3 separate regions of the Homo sapiens genome follow, and regions 2 and 3 are each linked to region 1. Evidence: promoter capture Hi-C in human tissues and cell types (Jung and others, 2019). All regions are on one chromosome and are shown on one strand. Each heading gives the region's core, a stretch centred on a gene start or on the middle of the fragment in contact. The rest is flanking DNA. Distances are from core to core; before and after follow the strand shown. Region 1 holds the start of PTN (pleiotrophin). Region 2 overlaps PTN (pleiotrophin). Region 3 overlaps DGKI (diacylglycerol kinase iota).

The links. The method cuts DNA at HindIII sites, captures the fragments that hold promoters and counts their contacts. A contact is called where the count stands out against the background at its distance.
Region 2: a fragment that was not itself captured here is called in contact with the fragment with the promoter of PTN in region 1 in 8 of the 25 tissues and cell types used here (H1 embryonic stem cells, adrenal gland, bladder and 5 more).
Region 3: a fragment that was not itself captured here is called in contact with the fragment with the promoter of PTN in region 1 in 2 of the 25 tissues and cell types used here (hippocampus and mesenchymal stem cells).

The regions. Positions count from the first base shown.
Region 1 is chr7:137,342,241-137,345,449 of GRCh38, reverse strand. PTN (pleiotrophin) reads left to right here and starts at 1,717. Exons shown (of 5, transcript NM_002825.7): 1 at 1,717-2,011. RefSeq lists a cis regulatory region at 1,165-1,174 and promoters at 1,178-1,923, 1-1,923. The HindIII fragment of the contact is 6,839 bases long and covers 1-3,209 here.
Region 2 is chr7:137,297,213-137,300,421 of GRCh38, reverse strand. The region is part of intron 1 of PTN (pleiotrophin); the gene reads left to right. Among named protein-coding and RNA genes, the nearest start is that of PTN, 45 kb to the left of the region's middle. The HindIII fragment of the contact is 3,750 bases long and covers 1-3,209 here.
Region 3 is chr7:137,382,568-137,385,776 of GRCh38, reverse strand. DGKI (diacylglycerol kinase iota) reads left to right here. Exons shown (of 33, transcript NM_001321708.2): 33 at 1-3,209. Among named protein-coding and RNA genes, the nearest start is that of PTN, 40 kb to the right of the region's middle. The HindIII fragment of the contact is 5,211 bases long and covers 1-3,209 here.

The sequences.
Region 1 (3,209 bases), core at 468-2,967:
TAAAGGGTGATATTTTTGGTGTAACATATGTAATTGAGTAGAAATCATGGGAATCTCATGCTTACTTTATCAGCCCTATAGAGAACACCTCAATCAAGCCAGCATTGTTCACCTAACTGGTAGCTAGCTGTATGTTACATTTGTATATGTTAACATAAAGCTGAAGAACAGAAAGAAAATGGATAGCTCTTTGTTCAATGCCTTAGAAACTTTGCCCCTATGGAGTGTTAATAGAATGCTGAGATATCTTTTTTGGTAAAGGGACTGGGAAAAATGCCAAAAAAAAATGCTAATGTGCGTTTCTCCACACTTTATACAGGTGAAATCTGATTAAAACAAGCACTGCTTGCTTCACACAGAAGTGGAATCACAAAAGGAAAACAGGTAACCTGAAGCCTGTGTGTAGGAGAAAGGAACACAGCTTCCTTATTTAGTTATTTCATTTGAGAATTGTATGTGGTATGTATATGAAGAGTTTGGGAAGGGGGATAAATTGTAGGTGTGTAAGTGCATCTCTGATGCCTTTCCTTTTGAAAAGCTTGATTGACTGCTTGATTGAGTTTGTAGAGCCACGTCTGGCTCCAGTCAACTTCTCCAAGGGACATTTCTACAGGTAGCTGTCAATAGAAGAGCCCCAAGTCCCTAAAAACTACTTGCCACAAGACAATGCTTCTAATTTGGGGATTTAAGGATAGTTCTAAGTAAACAAATTGCTTAATAAATATTTGTCAAATTGAAATGAAGGGATGTAACCTCAGAATTATGAAAAATGTGGTCTATTTTACAACCAATTTGGGAAGGACGCCATCAAATGATAAGCTGACCAGTAAAGGTAAAAGTAGGTAAAAGGAGCTAGCCACGGAGCAGGAAAAGCTGATAAGTGGCAGAAAATCTCGAAATTTACATTTCGAAAATGTTTGGGTGAATTTGTATAATACATCTTAATCCTTTTACACAATACTTTTATCTCATCTTTATCATAAATATTTACCTATGCATTGCCTTAGCGTCTTTCCTGTATTGAATGAAATGACAATTCCAGAGACGCAAAGCCCAGCCTCCAAGTTTTACAAACCTCAGAGTTTGAGCTACTTTGACGAATCCTCTAAATTCTTGGGTGTCAAAGGCATGTTACTAAATAGGTTGCTAAAGGCACCAAGGAAACCAAAAAAGGAAAGAGCTCTCCCTAAAGGTAAGTAGCACTTAATTGGGAACTTTGAGACGTCTGTCACTCTTTGTGACAATTGAGAAAAAGTACTTTGTACATTTTGTGCTTTGCAGGTGAGATGTGACTGACACCTTACTGTCTCTGTGTTTAGAGAGGGCTTTCGTGGGTGGAAGAAGAGGCTGGTTTGAAGAGAGTGCTTTTCCATTCTGAATATCATTAAAGGATTGTGGGGGGCCAAAAATGTAACCTAAAATGCCATCAATTGTCCATTTAAAATATCCTATTTGGCAAAGTGGCTTTGCACTCATCTGAAGAATAGATCATGGGTGGAGTTTGGAAAAGAAATGTTGTGTTTCGTCTCTGCTAAAAACAAAACAAGGTACCATCTCATGGCCTCTTGGTTCAAATCCGTTTTCTTGCTCCGCAGGGAGAGACTGCCCCTGGAGTATTCTGCTTTTAATAAGCTTCCCAATCAGCTCTCGAGTGCAAAGCGCTCTCCCTCCCTCGCCCAGCCTTCGTCCTCCTGGCCCGCTCCTCTCATCCCTCCCATTCTCCATTTCCCTTCCGTTCCCTCCCTGTCAGGGCGTAATTGAGTCAAAGGCAGGATCAGGTTCCCCGCCTTCCAGTCCAAAAATCCCGCCAAGAGAGCCCCAGAGCAGAGGAAAATCCAAAGTGGAGAGAGGGGAAGAAAGAGACCAGTGAGTCATCCGTCCAGAAGGCGGGGAGAGCAGCAGCGGCCCAAGCAGGAGCTGCAGCGAGCCGGGTACCTGGACTCAGCGGTAGCAACCTCGCCCCTTGCAACAAAGGCAGACTGAGCGCCAGAGAGGACGTTTCCAACTCAAAGTAAGTGAGAGGAACGTACGATTTCTCGGAGGGCTCTTCGATCGAGTTTGCCTTCACCCTGTGCCACTTTTCTGGGTGCCAGCAGATGATGGTGGTAGGGGTGAGAGAGGCTGCCTGGTGTCTTTGCTGATAGGACTGCTTTCAAAACTGACTTGCTCCAGAGGCCAAGGGAGGCATATTTTTGGGGTTTCAGGTTAGGTTAGTTCGGGTGTGCTTAGGTAAGTGAAAGGAAAGAAGTTTTTGTGATGTTAAGCATGTATTTGGACCGTGTTCCAGCTACCAGCTGGAGAGCAAGACAGGGTGGGCTGGAGAGTGCATCTTTGCTTTTTGTAAAACCTGGAGCTTTAGTAGGTGTGTCTCTGGCTGGGTAGGTGCAAAGAAAGTAAGGCAGCCTGAACAAGCAGCTCTCATTTTCCCAGCCTCTCTCTGATTCTCTGATTGCCCCAGAGCCTGTCAGCCCATGACTCTTAGCTGGCATTTCTAGGTAAGCTGTGGGGGCTTGTTCCTCCCAGTGCTAGCTGACATGAAACGTCTCTCACGGAACTACTGGCACCCGTCTTCCCACCTGACAGCCCAGGAATGGTTCCAGAAATGGTTAGGTCCAAAGTTTAGAAGACACACCTGGAGTCCCATCTCTCATTTGAATGCAAATTTAAAGAACTGCCCAGTACATAGACCCTTAAACTTTTAATTTGACCCACATAAATTTAGGATATATTTGTTACTAATTTACTAGATATTTAGAGTTTCTGAGTTGTTGTTTCTAATAAGTTAAGAAAACATTTTTTGAGAGGAATGTATTCAACTCCTTTCTTAATAGATGGAAAGTGAAACCTCCTCTCTCCTCTCCATACACACACACCCCTTTCTCCATGACATAATGTGACACAACACACACACACACACACACAGGAACACACACATGCAGTTTATATACACTCTAGTGTTAACTCACCCTTGTGTCTGTTAAGAGCTGCTTTGTAAGTTTGGGGACACATTCAGAAAATAGGAGGGGTAGGGGTGCTAAGAGGAGAAAATATTAAAGCTGCGGTCCTTGAGCATCTCTCATTTTAAGAGTTATCAGGCATTTTGCTTTAGCAGCTTGAGAAAGGGGTGATGTGTGTGTGTGCGTGTGCATGTGCGTGTGTGTGTGCTAGAGAGAGGGGTCTGGGAGGAGATTTAGAAATCACCAAAAAGA
Region 2 (3,209 bases), core at 399-2,898, 45 kb after region 1:
TGCACTGTGTTTTGCTCTGTCTCTGGTCCCTAGCACCTGGGCTGACACCTACAAAGCACTTGATAAATATCCATAAGAATGAATGCATGAAGAACTAAGAGAAAATTAAGTTCATTTGAAATAGCTGATGAATTTTTATGCTTCTCAAATTACGCTGCTAGAATCAACCACCTGTACCTTAGGCCCTAAGGCCACTCTGATGGTCACAAAATTCTGAGTCAAATGGGGTAAAAGATATAAAAATGTTTAAATTGTGAATTTTAATGTAATATCAATGTTCTATCCATCTACCTGTTCATGTATTTATCATCTATCTACCCACCGAGAAAGAAAGATTAGTGTTGTAAAGAGAGAAGTGACATTGCTCCCATGGCGGGCAGCCACTTCATCTTGGGCTTTTCTTCCTCATGTGCTTAGCCCAAAGACTTGGGATGAAAGGCCATAGGCTTTCCGTGAAAGAATTTTAAACCTAGACCCAATGAAGGGGACTTTTGAGTATTTGGCATGTATGAGGATTTGGGTCTTCCCTGGCCTTTTGAATGAGTAATGCCTCTTACCTGGGGGCTACCATGATTCTAGGGTCAGGACAGGGTCTCTGGCAAAAGAGTCAGATCTTAATTCTTTAGGGCTGATTCTCAAGCACAGAAACAAAAACCGGGAGTGTACAATCAGAAGAGACAAAGATGTTTGTCTCTTTCACAAGGGCAGGCATAGGGGTGAGGAGTCAGGAAACGGTCTCTCTTGAAAGTTAAAGCTTACACATTTGATGGAAGTGTGTCTTTCATACCAGAGCATGGTTTTTAGCACTTTCTGCCTCCTCTTTGGAAATAACTGCCCCTCATATTTGGTGGTGTCATGAGGAAAGCTTCTTTTTATTCTGCACTGTGCCATTAAATGGTCTCAGAGGGGCGTACCATGGGGACCTTATGGGGAGTAGTGCAGCACTGCCTACTTTAAGCCCTAGCTCTGTTCCTTATGAACCTGGCCTAATGACTGGATCTTTCTAAAACTCAGTTTCCCCATTTGTAAAATGGGGACTAACGGTCATCCCCTAATGGACTTATAGTAAAATTAACTGAGATACAAGCATATAAAACATTTAGTATTATGCCTAGAGCCCAAAGGAATAACCACCACCATTGACAACAACAAAATCCAGTTAATGTTAGCTGTGATAGTTGAGAGTTTTGTTGTAGTTAGACAACATTCATTTTAGGCACTGGATGACTAAAGGACGTGACCTCGGGAACTACCAAAGGCTGGAGGTAGGGCTAGGCATATTAGTGTTGAACAGTATTCTGGCTGTGAATGCAATGTGCCCATGGAAACGTAGCATGGGTCCATAGAGGAAGTGTGTAGGAATGCTCAGTGCAATTTTTCATTAAACCCCAGGGGTAACGAATATTTTCTTTGCTATCGGTACTTAATAAAACACTCTTTAGAGTGTTCAATTGCTCCCAATTACTCCAAAGCTCACCAAGTCTTACCTGGAACTGATTCTCACAATGAGTCTAGCCCCGGCTTGGTGCTATTAACCAGGCCTAAAGACATGTAATTTCTCTGAATCCCTGGCTATATTATAGATCTTGCTCCATTTCTTTGCTCGCAAGTTGAATTTTGGATAAGAAACCAAAACAGTTACTGTTTTTGAAATTCCTGGCAGGAAACCCTAACCCCTGTTGAGAGGTGATGCCAAGAGCAAAGGGAGTTGACAGAGTTGGATGCTTCCTTCTATTTTGGGCAGGAAGGCAGGAAATAGTCCTGCTTTACAATAATTATAGGCAACAGAGCTAGGAATAAAGTAGAGCCTCTATGGAAACAGTCTGTTCTCAATACGGTGTGCTGAGCCACCAAGAGTGTGCACAGAATTTTGACCAGATCTCACTGTGTCTCAGTGACTAGCCACCCAGTGCCCATGCATTTTTTGACATGAATTATAAGAGGTTTATAATGCTTTAGTTATTTTTATGTTAAAACCTGTGGAAGGATCATAAAATTTGAAAAAAAATAAATTTCCACATTAGAGAAACTACTACACTAAATAGCTTGGAGTCATTTTTCTGTTTAATATTTAATCAGAAACTCAGTAAACTTTTGGACAGTTTCAGGTCAATATTTGGCTAAGTTAAAAGAAAAAGAAAATCTAAAGCATATTTACCGAACTAATGAATACAGATTTGAGGATTAGTTCAATCAAAATTTAATCAAAATTTGGATTAACACAAACCTCAGGACTGTCAAAAATTCAAGATTAGAAACAATAATGTTTTTATACTTAAGAATCCTTACAGGCTCTTAAAGTTGCGTGTGGATCTATATTTTATCAATTCTTGCTCCTTAATCCTTGACCCAGGTACTTTATGTTGGAACTCAGTAGGACAGCTTCTGGTCTCTGTTCTTGCAGAGTGAGCTATTTCTGACACGTGAACAATAAGAGTTAGATGTGGAACAAGCTTGTGACAGGGTTAGTGAGTGCAGACGGTAAACGACACCTGGAAACATTCCCCATTCCTGCCCACTTTGGAAAGCTTCTAGCCCCTTGGATATCTTCTTGATCTAACTTATCAGCTCTTCTGGATATCTTCTATTTGCACCTCCAGCTCTACTCTCCTACCTCCTTTATTCTGCTCTATCAGGAGGCTGACCTTCATGGAAAAATCAATAGATTCGTTTGCCGTCTGCCTTCTGCTTTGCTTTGGCCAATGGAGGAACTGTCGGGAATTCAAAGTGTTGGATAAGAATGCGCCTGGGCTATTTATTTCTCTCCCTCATTGCCTGTTTTGTTGTTGTTGTTGTGTGTATTTAGAGGTTGTTCCTCAGGCTGCTCTCTCCTTCTCTCTGTAGATTCTGACAATGACCCCTTCTAGTTTCCACCTCAGATCCAAAGGTGGTAAATCTTTTTTTGTTGCTCATCTCAGTATGTTCCAACATCTCTCCTTGGTATTCCTTAACTCAGCTCATGCAATTTTAAATAATGCATTCATGAAATTATCCTCAATGCATCCACTTGAGTATGCCATCTACCTCTTGCTGGGACTCATCTTCCAGTGCTGCTGTGTAAAACTTCCATTCTGTTTAGACAGGTTTACTCACAGTGTCTTAGATATCCACAGTGGCTTCGCCACCTCCACGTATGCAATGGCCTATGCCCCTTTATCCCACAGACTATATCCAAACCAAATTTAACTATGCTTATGTGAGTGAAATGA
Region 3 (3,209 bases), core at 408-2,907, 40 kb before region 1:
TCAATGAAAACATAAGTAGGAAGAGAATAATATTTTGCATTTCCATTTTACTGGAGTCATAGTAGATTTCTAAAAATGTATCTGAAACTAAGATTTTAAAACAAGACTTAGAAACACTATTAAAATGAAAGCTAAGACTGATTTATTCTAGCTCTCAGGATAGAACTAGGAAAAATAAGCAGAGTTTTCAGTGGGTTTTGACTAAATATAAAGAAGATGAAGTACAAATAATATGTAATAGTGGAGTGGATATCACAGTTATAAACTTTCAGCCTCTGTTAGCATTTAAACAGAGGATACCTGACCACTCTGAGGGGTGTTGTGATTAGGAATATGTGATTTGAGGGGGCTAAAATTAGATGCTGTGATTTTTCAAAAGATATTTTTTAATGGCTTTGTTGAATGGCAGGATTTTATTTTAAAAACTCATGAAAATCTTGATTTTTGATTTGTTAAACTTTGCTTTATAACTGAGAATTTTAAAAATATCTAGGGGAATGGCCGTTAGTTATCATTTAAAAAATTTTAAACTAAGCATGAATTTAAGAGCTAGTCAAAAGAAAACATACTAAAAGGTGTAATTTAATTAAAAATACTTCTGGAAGCTTATAAATTTTGATCAGTATTCTTAGTCATTGTCAAGTAAAATTCTATTAGAAATCTGTCTTACTGTCCATCCAATATAAAAAAGTGCTGTGGTTTGATATTCTAAGAGTTAAGTGTAATCTAGTATAACCACAGAAGAAAATTCTGCCTGTAAGGTATTTGGGAGCCAAGTAAATGTACATGAAAGGCAATCATGGAAAACTCTTTGGCTTCTGCCACCAGCGTGGCAACCACAAGGGAGGTCCTACCCATGGAAATAAGAAAATAGTGATCCAAGTTTTCACCCAACTTTTGAAATTTCAATATTTTGAGCCAAATGCCTTCTGAAATGGGAGGCTTTGATAGTGGGAAATACTGAAATTATCTTTTCCCTCAGACCTTTAGTGAAACACACATATAGTTTTCACTCTATGACAGTATAAACAACTCAAATCTATACTGTTTGTTAAGAACAGTTTCAAGAATTAAAAAGTGCTTTAGCGTTATGATGTATTGACATGTTTGAGCTTCAGTTGGGGTTCAAAACAACCCCAACGAGGTGAATAATGCATATAATACATTTTAGATGAATGCACTGAATCTCAGAGCAGTGAATTCAGCCTGTGCAGATTCATATAGCAAATGATAGTGCTGCAGCCAGAACTGGGTCTTTAGAAATTACATATTAACATGTTTTCTAAGTAAGTCATTTTCCATCATTGCCTTCAAGGATGTTTTATATCAATTGTTCAGATTTCCATAATATAGAAGTTGCCTCCATGAAAAAAAAATGTTTACCTAAGTTTCCACGGAAAGAATGAGTTAGAAATAAGGGAGAATGTGAAATCAAAAAGTCAGAGTTTTTGCTGTCGGAGAGAGGCTTGTCAGCTTGTACATAGTTCAAGCAAAGAAAAGTCTAATGTTTGCATACCAGGGTGGATTTCAAGAGAAGAAATTAACAGTGAGCGTTAATGGCTTCTTTAACTTATTTGTGATTCTCAGCATTTAAAAAATGTTAGTCCTATTTTTCTTCCTTTGAAGTCACTATTAGGATGATATAATTTCTGAATGCTGCAACAAAAAATGTTAAAAATGGCCCTGACATCCAAGACTCTATTGCTCTAAGTTTATGGGTGGGTATGCAAGCTAAGTGTTATGATAATACATAGTCATATACATAGAGGTTTAATACACCTATGGGAAATTCCGGCATATTTGAAGTAGAGAAAAACAAACAGGCTTGAAATGTCCTTCAGTTCAGAATCTCATACTTTACAAGGGACATTTATGGGCAGATTGGTGAATATGTAGAAGGAGGATGTTTGATCTGGAAAGAAGACAAAATTGGATTAGGAATAAGAATATGTAGAGGAGTTAGGTTAAGTAGGACTGTTAGTTTCAAATTCTGCAGGGAAGATGATTTGTAGAATAAAATAAGGAAAGAAAAGAGCAGTAACACATGAAAAGGAGTTAGCTTTATTACTTATAAGGATTTATTTTTCCTAAACATTGCATCCAGAAAAACAGTTTGGGCTTTCTGAAAAACAGTGAAGTTGTTATCACTGTTTCTTCTAGTAGTTAAGTGAAGATTGAACAACTAACTCAGAGATCAAAGGCATATCTTTAATTGTGAGAGATCTTGGACTAGAAAAACTCTGTGAGATTTTCTTGGTTTAAATGTCTATAATTTTAGACTGGAACAGAACTCAATTTGAGCCTATTTTTTTCCCCCAGGTTCCTGCCAACTAGATAGCAATGAAGGCATTTTTTAAAAAAGCTTCCATCATTGCAAATATATCCCAAATCACTTAGCAGCGGGGATTTCATGACCCTAAAAAGTTGCCTTGCTTACACAAACACACCTATGCTTTAGTAGAAACATATCTTTTTTAGGAGATTTGGGAATTGGCTAGCATTTTTGCCAATTGTTAGCCAATTTAGGAGATTTGGAAATTGGCTAGCAATTTTGCCAATTGTTAGCCAATTCCCAAATCTCCTAAAAAAGATATGTTTCTACTAAAGCAAAAAGGTCACAGATTCAGGAGTCAAAGTGAAAACAAAGGATTTAGTGTTCTTTCCCCTACTTACTACCCATTTGTTGTTTGGGATGTAGAGTCAGGACTGGAGAAGAGGGTGGGAAATTCTATATCCTCTGCCAATACAGAGGCATGGAGGCACTTTCTATAACTTTGTGTCATGAAACAAGACTTAACCCCATATCAGTAGACTAATGTTTCTGTCATATTTCTGTCTAGGTGGATTACAGTTTTAATTGCCCATCATCCCTTAATTCTGTAATACAGCTTGAGTTCCTAGATTTCAGGTTGACTGGGTGAGGGAGGAAGTCACTTGAGGTAATTTTAAGAAATGAATCCATATCCAGAGTCTTGCAGAAAAGACCTGCTTCTACTCCACCTTCTTTCTTGTTCTACTTCTTGCCTCTGGTTTGGGGGCATAAAAGAGGGGCAGAGTTGTGAGGAAAGGAAAAAAGATTCTCAAAAGTAGTACAATAAGAAGACCCTAGTAGTAACACAAATTCTCATGGTAATCTCAAACAACTGATAGTGTTAGCAGATATTGAAAATCAAACTCAGGAAACATACAGAAAGATTAAATTTGTTCAA